Linked DNA regions of Homo sapiens: region 2 is linked to region 1. The links are contacts of gene promoters, found by promoter capture Hi-C in blood cells and fetal thymus (Javierre and others, 2016). All regions are on one chromosome and are shown on one strand. Each heading gives the region's core, a stretch centred on a gene start or on the middle of the fragment in contact. The rest is flanking DNA. Distances are from core to core; before and after follow the strand shown. Region 1 holds the start of EFCAB6-AS1 (EFCAB6 antisense RNA 1). Region 2 overlaps EFCAB6 (EF-hand calcium binding domain 6).

Region 1 (6,959 bases), core at 1,438-3,937:
AGATGCCCACAAATCCTTTGATGTTCCTCCCTCCAGGGGGAGAGGCTTAACTCCTCTCTCCTTGAGTGGAGCTGGACCTAGTGGCTCGCTTCTAACAAATTGAATGTGGATAAAGAAGAACAGTATCTTTACAGTGGAGAAACCCGCAGACGTCACTTTAACCAAGGGATCAAGATGCACATCGCCAGGAATGCATCCTGCTCCTCTCGCATTACCCTAGATGGATGACTTGAGATGGCACCTTCCCCTCTGTGGGATTTTTCTAAAAAATACATAACCCCGGACTAATCATGAGAAAACAGCAGACAAACACAAACTGAAGGACAGTCCGCAAAATACTCACCCAGCACGCCTCAAAACTTCCAAGGCCAGAGGAAGCAAGGAAATACGGAGAAACCATCTTAGACTGGAAGACAGTTGGGAGCCATGATGACTAAAGGCAGCTTGGGATCATGGATTGGATTCTGGAACAGAAAAAGGACACTAGTCAAAAACTGTTGACATCCAAATAAAGACTATATTTAACAGTGTTGTACTGGTGTTGATTTCTTAGTTTGGATAAATGTATCATGAATATACAGGGGAAACTGGCTGAAGGGTATGGAGGAACTCCCTGTATTAGCCTTACAACTCTTCCTCAAAAGGAAAAGTATTTCAAAATAAAAAACGGTTTTTTTTGTTTGTTTGTTTGTTTGAGACAGGGTCTCCCTCTGTTACCCAGGCTGGAGTGAACTGGCATGATCCCAGCTCACTGCAGCCTCAACCTTCCAGGCTCAAGCAATACTCCCACCTCAGCCTCTCAAGTTCCTAGGGCTACAGGCACATGACACCATGGCCAGCTAATTTTGTTTATTTTTTTGTAGAGGCAGCATTTCGCTCTGTTGCCCAGGCTGGTATCAAACCCCTGAGCTCAAGAGACCCTCCTGACTCAGCCTCCCAAAGTGTTGGGATTACGGGCATGACTCACCATGCCAGGCAAAATACAAAGATTGTTTTTAAAGAAAAAAAAAAAGGGCGCGGTGGTTCACGCCTGTAATCCCAGCACTTTGGGAGGCCACGGTGGGTGGATCACTTGAGGTCAGGAGTTCCAGACCAGCCTGGCCAACATGGCAAAACCCTGTCTCTACTAAAAATACAAAAATTAGCTGGGCATTGTGGTGCTTGCCTGTAATAGTAGCTACTCGGGAGGCTGAGGCAAGAGAATCGCTTGACCCCAGGGGGCGGGGGTTGCAGTGAGCCAAGATCTCACCACCGCACTCCAGCTTGAGAGATAAGTGAGACTCTGTCTCAAAAAAACAAAACAAACAAACAAACAAAAACCAAAAAAAACAAGTGCCTGACTCGACTTACCGTTGGGTTTGCCCCTTTGTCATTCATGAAAGCACACCCAGGCAGGTCCGCGAAGGGCGAGAGAGAAGTGGGACATAGTCCAGTCACCCAGTCACCCTGACTGATTCATCCTGTGTCAGGCAACAGCCAGCCAGGCTCAGCAGAGCACCTCACTGACCCCGCGGACCCCAGATGTGGGAGCCCTAAACACATTGTGTGCCACGGAGACGGGGCTGTCACACAGTTACTGTGGCACTGGATAACAGGCCTCCCTTAAGGGCAGGGAACTTGGGCCATTTGCCTGTCTGTCCCCAGGACCCAGCCTAGGGAGCATCCCTGCCCCTGTGGACCTCACTCACCCTCCCTCACTCTGTCTGACTCTACCATGCTGGGCTCTGTTATATTCCTTGGAGAGGCTCAGCCTGCTCCTGCCCCAGGGCCTTGGCACCTGCCAGCCCCTCTGCCTGGCACGTTCTCTCTATCCTCAGCTCTGAACATGGCTGGCGCCCTCTTATCATCTTGGAGTCCTCCTCGGGAAGCCTGATGTGACCTGGTCCCCTTCCGTGGTCACCCCATACCCTGTGACTGTTTTGTTGGCCTCGGAACCCTCACTTGGCAGCTCTGAGATGGCTTGGCCCTGGCTTTATTGTCTTTCTCCCCAGGAAGTATAAACTCCAGCAGTAGCCCCCTGCCTGGAATAGAGCCTGAAAGCAGGGCACACCATCCATGTGGAGTGATTGTCAAATGACGAAAGCTTGGGCTCCAACTCAGGATTAACCATCCACCTTTGTGACCTTGGCAAAGCCACTGATCCACACTGTCCACCCCCGCAGAGTGGAGTGGTGATTGCCTCTTTCCAGAGGCTGCATGGAGGACCATATGTCCAGGCCATATGTGAAGAGGGGGTTCTCAACGGAGGCACGATAACCACGAACCCCCACCGTGGCTGGAAGCAGCCTGGCCACAGTGAGTGGGCAGGTCCCACCAGCTTCTCTCACCTTCCAGGAGGAGCCGCAGGGCCAGGAAGGAAGGTCCCTGTCCTTGCTTGCAGGCCTCTCCCAGGAGGCCAGAAGCACCCCCTGACACCCCGCTCCCTGAGGGTCCCATCCCCATCTGAACCGTTTCTGACCAGGCAGGAGAAGGGCAGAAGCTGACGGCAAGCACGAATGAAGGGCGTTTGAAAGGCTGGGAAATACGTCTTATCTCCGCCCACCCCGCTTTTCAAATATGCTTACCTTTCCAAGTGACTGTGTGCATAGCGAAAGCTGTCATGGTGCACCCAGACTGTTATTGCGATCGGGGGCACCCCAAGAAGACGTTTCCACGGCGGCTTTTCTATTATAGCTGGTACTTCAGATATGCAAATATATCTTCCCAAAGCAAGACTCTGGGCAGGTGTTCTCGGCTCAGACGGTGAAGACATCTCCGTGGAGGTGTGAAGGACGAGCCCAGGTGTCTATCCCAGCTCCTTCCCAGGCTGGCCGGCACCCCCCGCCCATGCCTCAGGAGGGCGCTGTGGCTGCAACAGGGGCTGAAGGCCTTGCCCAACATCAGACTTGCAGACAGGGCCAGCTTCTCAGGCGTGCAACCAGGGCAGCTGCCAGGGGCCGAGCGCACAGAAGGAGCCTGCACTTGGGGTTAAGGCTTTGCTGTGGTCTCCTTATTCTTAATTATATCTTCAACAGATGTTTTGTAAGTGAAGTCTGATGAAACAATGGAGCATGGCACCTTGACTCCTGAGCTGTCCCACCCTCCACTGCACTCCTGCCCCTTCCTGCCTTCCTGGGTCAGGTTCTTTGCCATGCACTTCCTGCCACTGGTGCCCCAGTGCCACCGGGCTCCCCTCCCCACCTTTGTCCCATGACCCCTGGTGCATGTCACCCAGGCTGGGGACGAACCACATCAGCGGGGGAGGCCTGCCTTCCACTGTTGCTTTCTGCCCCTCAGGAGCCAGAGCCGGGGCCTGCACCAGGAGGACTGGGGTTAGGTATGTGCCCAGGAGTGTCCGGGAGGTAATGAGGAAGGCAGCAGCCATCCCTGCCTGACTGGCAGTGCCAGGCTGTGCTCAGCAGGTGGCTGAGTGGGGGCCTCTTGCCCACTCCCAATTCTAAGGTTGAGTGTGACGCCTCGGGGCCACCTGTGGGTTGGGGTGGCCGGCCCATGGGAAGGGAGATTCACCTCCCCACCCCTAGCTGGGGTCTGCAATTTCAGTTTTGCACCTGGCCCCACATATGACATAGCTGGTCCCATTTGAAGGGGTCTGGGAGGCACCACCCCCACGCAGCCCCTGCCTGAGCCTCATTGCCCCTCAGCTTCCCCACTCCAACTTCCCAGACCACAAATCAGAGCCTGCTTCCCTGCTTAGACCTCCCCCTTGTCCTCCACCCAGTGCCCACAGGGTCAGTGGGAGCCCCTCACTGAGACCTTCCAGAGTGGCCCCATCTACTCCCCTCTGCACACTCCAGCCTCGGCTCTGTGTGCCAGGCACAGACTGCAGTAGGAACTGGGAGGCCAGGCCCTGCCCTCACGGAGTAGCCCCAATGGGGAGTAACAATCCCCTCCCCAGTTTCCCCACTTGAATCCAGCTCTCAGACCCGGACCCATCACCGGGGGAAGAAGCAGAGCCTGCGTGAACACCGATCCTGCAATGCCCTGGTCAGCATGTGAGAAGGGCGCCCCGGGCCTCCCCGCAGGGATCTCTGTCATTCGCTTCGGTAACACATGCTGGGGAAAGGAGGTGGAATCCAGGGCTGGAGTTGATGCCGACACCCTGGAAACTGAAACACCGTCGTGCCCACTGGGAGAAAATGGGCGTAAGGTCAGGGAATCGGGGGGCCAGGGGAATGCAGCCTTCCAGGCCTGCCTTGCCGCGTGTTCACTGAGGCATGGAGTCAGGGAATCGGGGGGCGGGTCCCTTCCAGGCCCGCCCCTTGCCATGTGTTCGCTGGGTCCGCAAACCCCGGCAACGGTCACTTCTTGCTTCGCAAATACTTCGCAAATACTGGAAACTTTGTGCTGTGGGAGCTGGCCACGCTGGTTCCTGCGCCCGCAGGGTAAGAACCATTCCAGCAGGAAAGGCCGAGTGAAAGCCTGAACCAGGTGTCTCTTCCTCTTCTTTTATTTATTTATTTGTTTGTTTGTTTTGGGACAGAGCCTCACTCTGTTGCCCAGGCTGGAGTGCAATGGCACCATCTTGGCTCACCGCAACTTCCGCCTCCCAGGTTCAAGCGATTCTCCTGCCTCAGCCTCCCAAGTAGCTGGGATTACAGGCACGCGCCAACAAGCCCAGCTGATTTCTTTTGTATTTTTAGTAGAGATGGGGTTTCTCCATGTTGGCCAGGCTGGTCTCAAACTCCTGATCTCAGGTGATCCGCCCACCTCGGCCTCCCAAAGTACTGGGATTACAGATGTGAGCCACTGCGCCCAGCCTATTTTTTTTCTTTTTAGAGACAGGGTCTCACTCTATTGTCAAGGCTGGAGTGCAGTGGTGTTCTCGGTTCACTGCAGCCTTGAATCCCTGGGCTCAAACAATCCTCCCACCTCAGCCTCCTGAGTAGCTGGGCCTATAGGTGTGTGCTACCATGCCCAGCTTATTTTTTGAATTTTTGTAGAGACAAGGTCTCATTATATTTCCCAGGCTGGTCTTGAACTCCTGGCTTCAAGGGATCCTCCCACCTTGGCCTCCCAAAGTTCTTCATCTTCTTTTTTCTTTCTTTTTTTTTTTTTTTTTTTGACTCTGTCGCCCAGGCTGGAGTGCGGTGGCGTGATCTCGGCTCACTGCAACCTCCGCCTCCCAGGTTCAAGCCATTCTTCTGCCTCAGCCTCCCGAGTAGCTGGAATTACAGGCATGTGCCACCACGCCTAATTTTTGTATTTTTAGTAGAGATAGGGTTTCACCATATTGGCCAGGCTGGTCTCGAACTCCTGACCTCATGATTCACCTGCCTCAGCCTCCCAAAGAGCTGGGATTAGGGGGTAAGCCACCACACCCAGCCAGTTCGTCATCTTCTTAAAGGAACACCAGTACTATTAAGGTATAGGGTCCCACCTTATGATCTCATTTAACCTTAATTACTTCCTCGAAGGCCCTTTCTCCAAATACACACCCAGTAGGGATTAGATCTTCAACATATGGATCTGGGGATGCACAATTCAGGTCATAACACCCCATGCCTCCAGACCCCTAAAATTTGAACCAATGTGGCCAACTCCTGCATCTTTGTGGATATCTCCTACTCTCTAGGGTGCATGAGTTTTACCCAGGTATCTGGAGAGCATCCCAACCATGTCTTACTGCTCACGTCGGATTAACGTGACGCCGTCAAACCTGTGGGCCAGTGTCAGGACGGCCAGAATACCCGCCTCTTTGGACCACATTGTGACAGAGAGTGAAACACTTCGCATAGTTTCATGCCAAGGCCACACATGTCTATCACTGGTCATCCAGTGGGATGCAAACCCATTTTGTTCCTCCTTCCTGATGGGCTTTGAAAAGAACACATTCATCAGATCAGCAGCCGCACAGCCCCGTATTTAAAACTGTTCATCTGCTGAGTACACACACCATATTTGGCACAGCAGCTACAACTGGACTATTTCTTGGCTAAATTTTTGGTGGTGCACTGTCACCTGCTGTGACCATCATTTTCAGGGGGGCCAGGTGGACAGAGGAATTGGAGATGTGTTGGAGGCCAACCTTGAGAGTGGTCCTGACCTCCGCACGCCCCTTGGGAAGCTGTGCTGACTTTGGTTGACTATCTTTTGGGCAGGGACGGGTGCTCCGCCACGGTGGCCCCTGTGGAAATGGGCACTCTGCCTTATGATGCAGCATATACCTTTAGCAGTGGCCTTACCTGCTGCTGGGTCTGTGAAAGATGGAATTAGGAACGAAGGGCTGGGGGGAGGTGGCCCAGGCCACCATCACACCCTGTGACCAACGTGGGGAATTTATGCCTCTAGTCCCTTGCAGCACAGGCTCTGTAAGTCTATAGGCCCCGGATTCCAGAGGTTCATGCTTCCATCAAGGCTATCTCAACTGAAAGCTCTGGTGTCAGCTGGCCCACCTGGGCTTCCTGAGCCAGGAGACAGGCAGCGAAGAACAAAGCCCCCCCACTGGCAGGGGGATGGCCTTGACCATCACCGGGAAAGAGGACTACTGCCACATGAGGGACAGGGAGATGTGTGCCTGGCACTCGGGGGCCTGCTGGGGCATCTCCTGGTGCTCCCACAGCCAGTTCCAGCGGTAAGTGGGCAGGTGCACACACCACAGCCTATCAGGGGACAGTAACCAGGGCTTTCGGCCCCTAGGGATACGGGAGGGTCACCCTACCAGTTAAGCCCCTGGGCCAGCATGAGTGCTAGGTCAGAGGGAGGGAATCCAGACCAGGTAGAGGGGAAGGTAGGGAGTGTTGGTTACGGACTCAGGACCCATGGCAGCAGCACAGCGTCCACCCAGGTTTTCCCAGGAATTCTGACCAACCAGGGAACTGGAGAAGCCTGGATGCAGTAAGTGTGAGAAGCACACGGATCTGGGGCTGCAGGAGGTGGACAGTGGTGGATGCTCTGGTCTGCCCAGACCCCAGCTGCTAGGAGGCCTCTCCTCTGCCTCCTTCTAGAGAAAGTTGCCCTTG
Region 2 (6,959 bases), core at 1,915-4,414, 230 kb before region 1:
ATTCCATCTATCATTTGTCAACTCCCGACAAGAGGTGAAGATAGGAGTGGCTAAGACAGGAAGAAAATCCCATCTTACCACCTAAGGTGAGGTGAGGGCTCATTGTAAGCCCTGTTGAGGGAAGTACTGAGAAACAGAAAGCTATTCTGACCTGTATAGGAATACAGTGTATGTTCAGAAGGTCGTGACTCTCCCCCTCACAAAAAAAATACGTTCTTCACTGAAGACTAGAATTAAAGAATGTATATTCAGTTAAAGAAGTACATAAAGAAAAACAAAGCATTCTAAGCCCCAGGCTGTTTGCTCTTGTACCGTGTCACTACCCAAGTCAGGGAGCTCTCAGAAGAAAAAAATGCTTGAAGGTTCAGGCACCATGATGCCAGAACATCTGGTCTACCCAGTCGGCTGTGACAAGCGTGTCTGTTGGACACTGAGTGATCTGACACAGGTTTTTATGGGATTACCCTGGTGCCTTGGAGGTGTGTGGAGATAGTCATTTCAGAAGTAATTAGTAAATAATTATAATTGCTGAGCTGCTGGCTTGCTCTGTAATATCCTCATGAAGAAGAGACAAAAGTGGTGGGTAGATTCATTCTCTTAAAGAGGTGAATTTTCTTTAAAAAGACATTTAAAAATTTAATATTCAAGGGATAAAGAATCAGTTGTTAGAATCACCACCATTTCATAAACACACCTTAATTTTATAACACTACATTAGCATGAATGAATAGACAGGAATGCAGTCTGTTTGCCTAACAAAAAGGCTGTGTCAAGCTCAAAATGAGGCCATTTACTAAAACAAGCAAGCTCTTGGTTAATTCCTAATATTCCCCTAATCCTACTTTCATCAGCTCTACTTTGCTGCACTTGGTATTAATTGCCTATTGTAGCAGGTATTTGAACACATCTCCTCTTTCATCTGAAGAAAATATTAGCATATCGTAGAGCTGTTGGGACAGATTGTATCTGAGACACTGTTTCCTCCCCGCAGAAAAGCCTATCAATCATAACTGAATATAGTGATTAATAATGTCACAGCTTTTATTCTTGTGTCTCCGTGCATCTAAATGAAGAGTAGCACTTATATTTTGATCTAGAGAATCTCACACCACAAAATAATCCGTTGGCATTTTATTAAAAAATTATATTGAGAATACTTCTACCCCAGGACCTATTTTTGGTTGCTGTATCATTAATTTACTAAAGCTTTCATGAAGGAACTACAGCAAAGATTCTGCAATATCAGAATTTGCAATTATTTCGGACTAAGGTTTTTTTTTTAATCTTCCTGTGTGTGACAAATTAATAGTGCAAACGCAAGATTGTAGGGGTAAATGTTTAAAGCAGCATGGTGTGGGGGTACAGTCTGGAGCTCTGGCCTTAGCAAGTCCAAGCATGCATTTGAACACCAACACGGACTCTCTGAGTGATCCTGAGCAAGCTAGTCTTGCCTCTTTCGAGACTTTCCCCATCTGTGAACTGGGTGAACAATATTGCAAGGTTTTCTCAGTGTTATTGGGATTCTGTGTGAGAATAAATATAAAATGAACTCACCGTAGTGCTGGGCACATAGAAGTTACTCAACAAAATTAGGAGTTTGTATTTAGAGGACACAAAGCATGCGAGTTCTTACGTGGGAAGTTAAAGGATGGCATGCGATCATCTAGGGCAGCAGTCCCCATCCCCCAGGCTGCAGACCTGTACTGGTTGGTGGCCTGTCGGGAACCAGAATGCACAGCAGGAGGTGAGCGGTGGGCAAATGAGCATCACCGCCTGAGCTCCGCCTCCTGTCAGATCAGCAGCGGCATTAGCTTCTCATAGGAGCACGAACCCTATTGTGAACTGCGCATGCGAGGATCTACGTTGCACGCTCCTTATGAGAACCATCTAACTAGTGTCTGATGGTCTGAGGTGGAACAGTTTCATCCCGAAACCATACCCCCTCCCCACTGGCCCATGGAAAAATTGTCTTCCACAAAACTGGTCCCCGGTACCCAGAAGGTTAGGGACTGCTGCTCTAGGATTGAAAGCTACTAGGGGAAGAATAAGAGGGCTATATGCTGAGGGTGCCCACGTTTATATCTCCTTCTGAGGCCCCAGACTCACCAGTGTCCACAGACAAAAACGTAACTCGTGACTGTCCTCCTGCCCCACCCCAAGAATCCTTCCTCCCAGGTCAGTAAATGGTTCTACCACTCATCATTCATTCAAGCAGAAACCAAGGACCAGTCTTGATTACCTCTCCCTTACCAGTGCCCCTCCCATATGCAGGCCGTCAGCAAGTTATGTCTACTGTATCCTGAACTAGATCCCAAACCCGGACACTTCTGATCCATCCCTACTGCCATCATTATACCTAAGCCACCATTGTTGCTGGCCTGTGCTTTGTCAGTGACTCCTTAGCTGGGTTTCCCGTTGCCTCTCTTGCCCCTTATAATCTGCATTCCACACAACAGCCAGAGTTATCCGTTCAAAACATAAGCCAGAGCCCGTCAGACTTCTCTGGTGAACATACCCATGTCTTTTGCTTGTGCATCGAGTACACTTCAGTTAAATGTCCCAGCTTTCAGAGCTCTGCCCGAGAGAGCTCTCTAGTGAGATGTCTTTTGACTACCCTAAAACTGTACATTTTCCGTAACACGTAGAACATTCTGAAATGTTGTTTGTTTGCTTGTTTGTGACTGGGATCTGTGTTCTGTGGGAGCAGGCACCTTTTCTGTCCTGTCCACTGTGGTAACTTCAGTGCCTTGAACAGTTCCTAGAGCCGGATATACACTCAGTAAATAATTATTGTATGAATAAAGAAAGTTTTGTAGAAAAGTTCATATTCCTTGGAATAGCCAGGAACAATTGGATGAGGAAGGTGATATTGGAGCTTGAGTTTGGACCATAGATAGACTTGCAATGCACGTTGAGGATGGGATAGGGGAAGAGATGTGGGGTAGTTTTCAGAATTGCAACCTGGCCTAAGAAAAGGACATGAGGAGAGGGAAGCCGGGCTGTGGCCAGAGCACCGCAAGGAGACAAGCCCTGCGGCTATTCTGTAGAGTTATGTTTCTCAAGGCAAGTTGGGACAGATCAGTTTTGAAAGGTAGACTGGCGGAAAAGATGCATTTGAAGGCCAGGTTTTAACCCTTCGGCATGGGTCAGGAGGAGGATGACTGAAGGTTTCTGATAAGGGGGTTATGATGTATTTAGGAGAGTGCTGTCAGCAGCATCATGGGTGCATTTGCTGGGAAAGCAACTGGAGTCAGGCGTACCTGTTACCAGGCTTGGAAGTCATCGGTCACCCTCTTACCATCATCGTCTGCATTTGTTGAGCACCTACTGGTGTTGTGGGGACACCATGTGGTTATTGGGGATACAAAGAAGACTAAGGCCTGATTCTTGTCCTCCAGAAACTTAAAATCACCTTGGGGACACAAGCGTAAGCAACACATTATGATGGTTTAAAAATGTGTTTATTGGGCGGTATATCACCTAGATCAGGAGGAGTTAGGGAATAAAGTGATACAAGTTGCTCATACTGACAGCTGAGAGATGTGGACAGTAAACTCTCTAAGACTTTGTAAGAGAAAGTCACCCCTATTGGCTACTGGGGAGGTACCCAGGGAGGGTGATTGGTTTGAACCAGGCCTTAGAGGAAGGGTAAGACTTCAGATGGTGTGTACATAGCAGGGGCTCATTAAGTCTAGGAATTCATGAATGAACAGAAGGCAGGCAGGAGGGCACAGGGTGGGTGTTCTCCCACCAACTGGATCAATTTGCCAGGAAGAAAGATGTCTACGGGGGTGAACGGGGAGGACGTAGGCACTCCCAGCTGAGTGTGCACTGAGTGAGCTAACAGTCTTCCTCCCCAAACCTGCAACATATTCTACATTGTTGATCTTATCCAGTCAGGTCACCAAGGCAGAAACTGGGCGCCACTTCGACTTTCCTTTCCCTCACCCTCTACATACAGTTAACCACTAGGTCCTGCAGATTTGGTCCCCCAGAGCCGGCCCCAGCTTCTCCAGTGCTGTTCCCCTAGTCCTTGAGGATTCACAATGTACGTTAGCATAGTGAAGGCTCAGAGGAGGCTGCTGTATAGAAATCTATTGAATGTTGCTGCAGCCAGCCTTTCCGTGCATGTGTTTGTTTAGCTCTAGATCCAGAAGAACTTGTGTTTGGAGGAACGCCATTTTGGGAAATGCTGGGGGAGACGACAGACAAAGTCTTTTTCTACTCTAAAATGTGATTCTGGTCTATTTCTTAGGTGAGGTGGTCTGTGGCTGGCTAGGCTCTTGGCAAAGTGCTACAGCCACTTGGCAGTACCCAGCATTGGCCCAGCCTGGGAAACTTTTCACGTAACCTGAACAGTCTTCTGCGGTTTGTCTTTCTCAAAGCAGCATCCTCTTGCATGAGGTCCAGATAAGCAGCAGGATGCTGGGTCAGCATAGTGGCTTCTGATCTTCCAGGCTTGCCCCTGCTGGTGTGCAGCTCTGTCCTGTGAGTGAGCTGAGGCCAGGGCTCTTAGGGGCCCCAAGATTCTTGGCCCGTGGCAGCTGAGGTGGAGTACCCATCCTATGAGTGTGGGCTGGGTAAGAAAGAAAGGAAAGAAAGGAAAGATTTCTTATAGATCAGCAGCCCTTTTTAAAATTTTAATTTCTAATTTTTTGTAGAGATGGGGTCTTACTATATTGCCCAGGCTAGTCTTGAACTCCTAGCCTCAAGCAGTCCTCTTGCCTCAGCCTCCCACAGTGCTGGGGTTACAGGCATGAGCCACCGCACCCAGCCTGGCACCCTTGTAAGTCCCTCAGCTTATAGACGGGGCACCTTTTCATAGCTGTATCGTAAGCTCAATGGGTAGCTAGAGTTTCTTAAAAGAAGTCTATAAGCTATACGTTACAGGTAAGCATTTTAAAAATGAAAAATTGAATGTGGGGGAAGGTTTACATGGCCTGTGGACTTTATATAAGCACGAGTTTCCCTCTTCATCTTGGCTGCAAGGAGACCCCGAACCAGAGTTTTGCTTCATTGTGTCAACTATGACTTTTAGGTTTCTTTAGCTCATTTTTTCGGGGTCAGCTTTCTTTTCTCCATTTTTGTGGATCTTATTTGGATATCTTTTTCAGTAAGCTTTTTCGATTTTTGGTAAAGGCAGGGTATGCCTATGGTCAGTAAAGAAATTTGTAGTCCTTGGCCTGCGAGGGCAACTGCCAGAGCAATGAGAGCATCAGCCCAGAGGCAGGGAGGCGAGGCTTTTGTGAAAGGTGAGCGATGCCCGGCCCCCGCTTCCCGCTTGTCCCCGGATTGGAAGTTTGTGTTTATGAGGTTCTGAATGTAGTCTAATTTTTTCCTATCTGGTTTGGCGCATCTCTACCAGCTGGTAAATAGGAAATGTTCACGGTAGGAAGCCAATACTCTGCAGAGTGTAAACAGATGGAATCGATATAAAGTGACAAGTTAGACTGTGCTATTGAGAATACAGAGCCAAAACTAAGAACATAACAGTCAAGCTACTTATTTCGTTCCAGTTCATTTAGTCCTGAATAGTGCTTCATATCTGCACAGCTGTGTTGTTCTTTTTTCCCCCTTCCTTTCTTCTGGGTTGATAATGACAATTTCAAAGAAAAACTTTAATTAAAGATTTTATACAAAATAGCCAAAAGTAGAATAATAAGGAAAATGAGCATTGATGTGTTTATTGTAAGAGAAATCCTTTTTCATGGTTTCATTTCAAATCTGTACTTCTTAAATTTAAAATGAATTTAGTGGTGGAGACAGAAAGGTGCCAGACTGACAGCCGTGGGTGTTGAACTCTTCCGCTTGCTGCTGAGCCAAGACATGGGGGTGCCCGAAGCCCCCTCCCCTTGGGACTCAGTCTCAGTCTACAGGCAGGCGGGTGGGATGCGGTTCCTGACCCCCTTCTCTTAGAAGCCAGGTGAGAAAAAGTGGCTCCGGGTGAGGAGCTGCACAGAAAACAGCTACACGGAAGCCAATAAGAATGAAATTGTAGAAGGTTTAAGTTCGTCTGCGGGTTATGCTGTGGCATGAAGAAGCTTGGCCTGCCTCCGGGAAGGGCCACGTTAGTGCCAGGCCTCCAGAGGGATTGTTTTCCAGGCGGAGTGGGAATTCTGGGCTTCAGAGGGGAAACATTCAGCCTTTTCTCATCTTCTTTAAAGCCTGGGTGGTCAGATTTATTTGAGTTCACAGTTTTCCTTCCTGGAGCTCAAAGTGCTATAAAAAGAATTTTAAACAAAGAACTCTGGAGTAATAATAGCATCCATGGTTAGCAGTTTATGGAACCATCTGAACTCAGTGGGGTACAAATATGAAGCAGTTTGATTTCTTAGCTCTCAGTTTTCTCCAACAGGAGCTGCTGAATCTCCCTCTCTTGTCCCATAGGAATATCTTCAGCAGATCTGGTGGCTCTCTGGTCACATTTAGGTCTAAACAGGTCCAGTGCAGGCGAGTTCAGTTTAAACCTCAAGTGTGGGGCTGGTTCAGCACGCCCTTCTCAGCTCCTCCAAGCCCGAGGGCCCTGGAGTGGGTAGGGCCTGCTCACTGGCTGTACCTCCCTCCTTCTTTCTGCTTCCTCTCTCCCCCAGATCATGGGGTCTGTGATGAGGGCTGGGGAAGGAGAGCATGTCTCTCTCTCCCTTATCTGGGTCCTCTCTGGGAAGCTCTCCTATAGGGTCCGTGGGGAGTAATTAGGACAGTGCTTTGGGGGCCTCTGAACTTCATGGTTTCCTGTTGAGGAAGATCAGCCCTGACTTAGCCCCCTCTGGACCCCCTCAGCTCCCACTCCTGGTGGTCCAGCTCACTTCCTTTGGCTGCTTGGGTCCCCTTCCCTGATGAGCAGTCCCTTGGGAACAGGACAGCTCAAGATTTCTACCTGTCATGGTGTCCTCTTAACCCATGGAAAATTCACAAGTCCCGTCCATACCAAAATAGGTGTTCAGGCTGCTTTCATCTGC

What was found. The method cuts DNA at HindIII sites, captures the fragments that hold promoters and counts their contacts. A CHiCAGO score of 5 or more calls a contact.
Region 2: a fragment that was not itself captured here is called in contact with the fragment with the promoter of EFCAB6-AS1 in region 1 in 1 of 17 cell types (megakaryocytes); the score reaches 5.8 in megakaryocytes.

What each region holds. Positions count from the first base shown.
Region 1 is chr22:43,511,982-43,518,940 of GRCh38, reverse strand. EFCAB6-AS1 (EFCAB6 antisense RNA 1) reads right to left here and starts at 2,687. Exons shown (of 3, transcript NR_046563.1): 1 at 2,565-2,687; 2 at 344-464. RefSeq lists a silencer at 3,959-4,306 and an enhancer at 3,581-4,339. The HindIII fragment of the contact is 5,518 bases long and covers 2,086-6,959 here.
Region 2 is chr22:43,744,446-43,751,404 of GRCh38, reverse strand. The region is part of intron 6 of EFCAB6 (EF-hand calcium binding domain 6); the gene reads left to right. Among named protein-coding and RNA genes, the nearest start is that of EFCAB6, 64 kb to the left of the region's middle. The HindIII fragment of the contact is 3,912 bases long and covers 1,209-5,120 here.